2 separate regions of the Homo sapiens genome follow, and region 2 is linked to region 1. The links are contacts of gene promoters, found by promoter capture Hi-C in blood cells and fetal thymus (Javierre and others, 2016). All regions are on one chromosome and are shown on one strand. Each heading gives the region's core, a stretch centred on a gene start or on the middle of the fragment in contact. The rest is flanking DNA. Distances are from core to core; before and after follow the strand shown. Region 1 holds the start of RPS20 (ribosomal protein S20). Region 2 holds the start of XKR4-AS1 (XKR4 antisense RNA 1).

Region 1 (2,912 bases), core at 169-2,668:
ACTTAAGCATCTGCAATGGTGACTTCCACCTCAACTCCTGGCTCAATACTGATGGAAGTAATCTGCTTAACAATCTCAGAAGGACTGTGCAAGTCAATGAGTCGCTTGTGAATTCTCATCTGGAAACGATCCCACGTCTTAGAACCTTCACCACAAGGAGTTTTTCTTGTAGTGATTCTCAAAGTCTGTAACAAAAGACAAAGGAAACCAAGTGTTTATCGTTTTATACTTATCCCTAGAACATCTGGAAAATCATTACTTCTAATCATTTCATTAGTTTCCCTTTGGTATGATTCCAATTTACACTAATAGATTTTCAGGTACCATGGGTTGAAAATGCCAGGTCTGTTTTCACTGTGCTAGGACACCACCCTTAGAGCTTGCGCCTGTTAAGCACCAAAGCACACCAAGAACACAGCAACAATAATTCAACAATCATATCTAAACATTAGCTACTTACTAGGAACCGCAATCTACCACCGATTTCTATGTGCGTTTGTAGACAGCATCAGTGTTAACAATTTTGGCAGCCGAACTCCTTAAAGAACCTGAATTTATGCAACATCCGGAAGCAACTCCTACTTCCTGCCCCTCCGATTTACTTTACCTTGGTAGGCATTCGAACTGGTCCTTTCACTTTGAGATTCTTTTCTTTTGCGCCTCTTATCAAGTCAGCACACACTACAGGAAATAAAAGACCTCTCAGTATAATCGAAACAATTAAAATCGGCTTAAGGCCTTCACTTCTGCTGGCTCAGAATAGCGTATAAAATTATCACCGTTACTCAACACAATAGGTACCTCCTCATCGCCAGCTGTATGACAGTAAAAGCAATTTTAAGCCACGCTTTACTTTTTTAAGTAACTTGTCACTTTAGTTCTTGCAGTCCACCTTCTACACTAACATTAACGAGTAAAGCTCGTCGCTTTTCGCCCAATTCCCCCTCCCCCCCGCATAACGAATGCACTGACCCTTTTCCAAGGATTTTACGTTGCGGCTTGTTAGGGTGATTCGAATTCGGTGAATTGCCACCTCCGGCTCCACGGGTGTTTTTCCGGTATCCTTAAAAGCCTATTATTAGATACATGAAAAAGAACAATAAGCCAAAAATGGTCTGCCACTTCTGGAGAAAGGCAGCTTCCGGAAGCTTCCCGCGTTTCCCCACCATTTCAGGAGCGCCTTTCCGCCCCTACACGCCCCGGCATCTGCCCTCAGGAGCACGAACTCGAAACCGGGGTCCCCCCGGCGCCCGAGCCCTGCGTTGCGCCGCCCGCCGCCGACTGCCGCCTCACCATGGCTGTTGCGCGCGGGCTTCCTGACCGACTTGTTCCTCGGCGAGAGCGAACAGCGGTGAGTCAGGAGCAGGAGCGTGCGGACCAAAAATCCTCAGCCCTTACGACCGCGTCTTCCTCAAAAAGAAAGGGGTGGGACTTGAGCAACGCTTATATAGCACGCTTGCATCCGGGTCCCACACGCCCCGGAACAGGAAATATCCCGGGCCCTAGAGGCGGTCGCACAAGGGCGAGCTGGAGCACTAGTGGAGTTGGCGGGAAAGGCACGGCTGCGGGCGCCCCCTGTCCGCACGGAGGAGCCGAAGTCCCGCAGGGTGGGGTCCCCGCCTGCGCCGAGAGGGCCACCTGGTCGAGAGAACAGGCGACACGGAAACCTGAGAAACTCCTCTGTCTGGTGCACCTAACCCTCTTCCTCATAAAGTGCACACGAACTCTGGTTTTTCCGTTGCAAATTTTGCTTTCTACATAGACCATACCATTCGTTGCTCTCTGAGGATGAGGTAACTTCTCTGAGCTTAGCTGACATGAGCATTGGCAGAAATGCTTCTCGTAATCTGGATAACTTACGTTAGAATTAGTAAGCAGTTATTTTTCATAGCCTGAAACGTCCTGTTGTGATATTTCAGCTCCTGGCTTCCCAGTCCAGCAGAAGTATCTACATCTATTTCTGGAAAGGACCTGAACTTGGCTTCTCGTCCTTCTGGAAAGTGAGGCGAAAATGCCAGGCTGCGCAGCTATCCTGAGGCCCGGCCTGGAACCTGGCTAGCCACCCAGTCCTGATACCTCATCTCCTTTCTGTTGGATAAAGTCATTGGATAAGATCCCCCAGGGTCTTCTTAATACTGAACATCTGTTCATAATCACATAAGTGACCAAGTATAGTGGAAAACCCGAATGGTCAACTGAGCTGAGCAGTGGGAGAGAGCGCAGGGTGAGCTCACCTACACCTGAGCAAGAAGCCGGGGCTAAATACGTGGAAATCACTGAGATGGATTTTGATACAGGGCAGAAAGAAGAGTAAAATCATCTCATATTACTTTCCACCTGAAGCTCTGAGCCGAAAGAGTTATTTGCTCAAACACTCTGAAATGGGGAGGGACAGAGCTCTGACCCCTCCGTCCAGGCCTGTTTGTTGTTTTTTTTTTTTGTTTGTTTTGTTTTTTTTTTTTTGTGAGACGGAGTTTCATTCTTGTTGCCCAGGCTGGAGTGCCATGGCGCGATCTCGGCTCACCGCAAACTCCGCCTCCTGGGTTCAAGCGATTCTCCTGCCTCAGCCTCCGGAGTAGCTGGGATTACAGGCATGCGCCACCATGCCCGGCTAATTTTTTTTTTTTTTTTTTTTTTTTTAGTAGAGACGGGGTTTCTCCATGTTGATCATGCTGGTCTCAAACTCCAGATCTCAGGCCCGCCTCGGCCTCCCAAAGTGCTGGGATTACAGGCGTGAGCCACCGCGCTCGCCCCGTCAGGACTCTTTCTTGAGGTTTTGTCTTCTGTTCCTTGGTAGGAAATTATGTTTGAAACTTTAATCAAATAATAGCATTGTCTTATTTGGTGATAATTGGAACATAACTAATAACTGGGTTTCTTTGGCTCACGATACGTATGAGGTTTTTTGCTGC
Region 2 (3,219 bases), core at 564-3,063, 550 kb before region 1:
CACTAGGTAAGCTCTAAGGTCTTATCACCTATTTTCACATTTTAAGAGATAATATATAATCCCTTTTAGTCCCCTGTAGCTGTTTTTATAGCTTGATCTTAGAAGCAAGTTTTCATGAGTGATATACTATTCATTATTTTGAAAGAAAAGACTGACAGACCCATTATATATTTTTTCCTGGGGCCACTGAAGGAATCGTCATATTTTAGTATGATGATCCTGAAAAAATACATTGTTCAATGTCACTTATATATTCCTGCCTAGCAATGTAACCATGAAGAAGCAGCAGGTAAACCCAAAATTAGGAACACCTTTTTTTTTCTTTTTTTCTTATTTTCAAGTACTATACTCTTCAAACAATGTCAGTGTCATAAAGTCAAAGAAAGTATTTGGAAATAATCCAGATTAAAGAAAACTGAATTAATACAACAGCCAAATGTAGTACCTGATTCTAGACTTGATCCTGTATAGGGGAGAAAAATTTTGGAATGGACATTGTTAATGTCAATTGGTGAAACTAGAATACTGATAGTGGATTTTTTTAAAGTACTGTGTCAATGTTAAATTGATTGAAGTTGATAACTTTATGTGGTTATGTAAGAGAATGCCCCTATTCATAGGAAATAAACACTGGCATATTTTAGGATAAAGGACCATAATGTATGCATTTAATCGCAAATGGGTGAGAGAGAGAGACAGAGACAGAGAGAGGGCAATGATAAAGTCAGTTGACAATTAGGGCAAATGAAATATAGATGTTCAATATAATATTTCTAGTCTTATAATTTTTCTGTAAGTTTGAAATTATTTTCAAATAACAACTTAAAATACACATTAATAGCTAAAGGAGTGCTCAGAGTCCTGTGTTCCAGCACTGTGCCACTGCATATCAGAAGCTCCAGAGAACTCTAAGAATAAGGCCATGCCTTGCTGAGGAAGTCTGTCTTGGCATTGGAAAAAACTGAGCTCGTATTATTTGTATAAAGAGCAAAAGAACTAAGTGTTCTGTGGCAGTTGTGAATTTGTGAAGTTGTAAGGGTCTTAACTTGTATATGACCCCATATTTTCTGTTCAGCATATATTTGTCTTATAAAAATCAATTGTTAAACAGAAGAAAAAGTAAATAATAATCAAAGGAAGCCCCAGCACGGTGGCTCACGCCTAAAATCCTAGCACTTTGGGAGGCCAAGGCAGGAGGATCACTTGAAGCAAGGAGTTCGAGACCAGCCTGACCAACATGGTGAAACCCCCTCTCTACTAAAAATACAAAACTTAGCCAGGCGTGGTGGCACATGCCTATGGTCCCAGCTACTCAGGAGGCTGGGGCATGAGGATGGGTTGAACCCAGGAGGTGACGGCTACAGTAAGCTGAGATCGTGCCACTGCACTCCAGCCAGAGTGAGACTCTGTCTCAAAAAATCATCATCATCATCATCAACAAAGGAAGAAGAGAAATTCTCATTGCTAAAGCAGAGAATTCATAAAGAGGGTATCACAGGGACATGAAATTTCCCTTTGGTATAGATTTTTTAAATTGTAAGATATAGAGAGAGCAAAGCTGATAGAAAGCCTTCATTTTTCTACGGCTACAGTATCATCTTAACAAGTTCCTGGAGTGTCAAACGCAGGCTGAATTACTCTTTTAGGACACGCAATAAAAGGGGTAGAGATTACAGGGTAATTTGAAGGAGGCTAATGTTTCTATTCTTTTAAATCTGACAACAGATCATATCATCATTTCATGATACTGTGTACTTAAAGTTTTCTTACTATTTTTTCACTGCTTTGGAAAGCAGCCTTAAGTAACGTCTTCCTGTGCAAACTGGTAGAACCATTCTGACCACCCCGTTAACAACCCCGCTTTGGTTGGCGCGAGCCTGACCGGCGGTGCAGTTATCTTCCTGAAGGCGGCGCTGTGCCCCAGCTGTGCTGAAGGAGGCCGGCGTGAAGGAAGGGGAGGGGCGTTCCCGGGCAGAAACCCAGCTGGGCGCCGCGTTTAAAAGCACAAAGGGAGCATAGTCTAGTGAGAAGCTACACGTTTGCAAGTGGTACACATAAGAAGAGAGATATGAGCGGCTTCTATGCCCTACAAAAGCGTCGAAATTAAAAAAGGCACAATCTTTTGTTCTTAAATCCCCAAGTGATAATAAAGATGTTCGCATAGTCATTATCCCATTACCTTTTATTTCGCATTTCTCTCACCTTCTTTTGTCATTTTTTAAACTTTTTCTCCTTCCCCCTCTTTCACTCCAGAATTTGTTTTATAATTGATGTCGATGTTTTCTGTTGCTTAGAAATTAAATTATCAGAAACTCCTTTGTATACTGGTCTCTGACCTATAAATAGCACCACAGCTGCCTGTGACTTACAGCAATTAAAGATTTTTGTGCTAGCCAGAAAAAGAAAAGAAAAGAAAAACCTGAAGGTCCCAGTGTAGCATGTCTAGTTGTTCTGCTGGCTTTATTGGGAGGAAATATGAGAAATGGCTCTTAGAAAATATTTTCCTTATCAATAATTGTTCTTTGGAGTTCACCTTACTCAACGAGGATGTATCAGAAATAATTATTGGGGTTGAATGTATTTCCTGTCAATTAGTGTGGTCTTTTTCCACAAGAGTACTTTCTTTTCATTTTTCAAGGATCATAGACAACAGCTCTTCCCTATAAAAATATTTTTGAATAAAAAGTACCATTTCCATTATAAGATCTTGGCAATCAACATATCTTCTATTATATCCAAAAGAAGAGAAAGGCTTTAATGGGGCCTGGTTATGATTAATAATAGATTTGGTGAAGAAAAAGCCAGCCAGACTTTAAAATAGATGAGACCATTCTTAGTCTTGGTGAGTCTTGGTTCAGCTCATTAGGGAAGCCAGCTGCGATGCAGATTGGCATACCATTTCTGTGACAGAGGAATTTCCCATAAGAGCTCTCTCCTAAAGGAGGCCAGTGTGTTTTTAGGTGAGCCCTGGCCACATCTGGACGATAGAGATGAACTGTGCCATACAGGAGGTGGAACAAGAGTAGAGGAAAACAATACAAATGACTTTTAACATTTGGAAGCCTACTTTTAGAGGGAATACCAACCAAATGGGACCAATAAAATGATAAAATAAGAGGAGTGATTGAAAAATAATTTCAGCACAATCTTTAATCTATGAAGAGCTAAGAGATGGAAGACAGGGAACGGACATGTCTTCTTTTGTGGGAAAGGCAATAA

Evidence for each region. The method cuts DNA at HindIII sites, captures the fragments that hold promoters and counts their contacts. A CHiCAGO score of 5 or more calls a contact.
Region 2: a contact is called between the fragment with the promoter of XKR4-AS1 here and the fragment with the promoter of RPS20 in region 1, in 1 of 17 cell types (erythroblasts). The highest score is 7.1, in erythroblasts.

Annotation. Positions count from the first base shown.
Region 1 is chr8:56,073,088-56,075,999 of GRCh38, forward strand. It overlaps RPS20 (ribosomal protein S20), which reads right to left and starts at 1,419. Exons shown (of 4, transcript NM_001023.4): 1 at 1,294-1,419; 2 at 973-1,072; 3 at 608-681; 4 at 1-185. The coding sequence starts at 1,296. The coding sequence ends at 3. SNORD54 (small nucleolar RNA, C/D box 54) reads right to left here and starts at 814; the gene lies at 752-814. It overlaps CERNA3 (competing endogenous lncRNA 3 for miR-645), which reads left to right and starts at 1,505. Exons shown (of 2, transcript NR_149110.1): 1 at 1,505-1,793; 2 at 1,920-2,187. The HindIII fragment of the contact is 15,741 bases long and covers 1,147-2,912 here.
Region 2 is chr8:55,519,165-55,522,383 of GRCh38, forward strand. It overlaps XKR4-AS1 (XKR4 antisense RNA 1), which reads right to left and starts at 1,814. Exons shown (of 2, transcript NR_134323.1): 1 at 1,771-1,814. The region is part of intron 2 of XKR4 (XK related 4); the gene reads left to right. RefSeq lists an enhancer at 1,833-1,922. The HindIII fragment of the contact is 12,203 bases long and covers 1-3,219 here.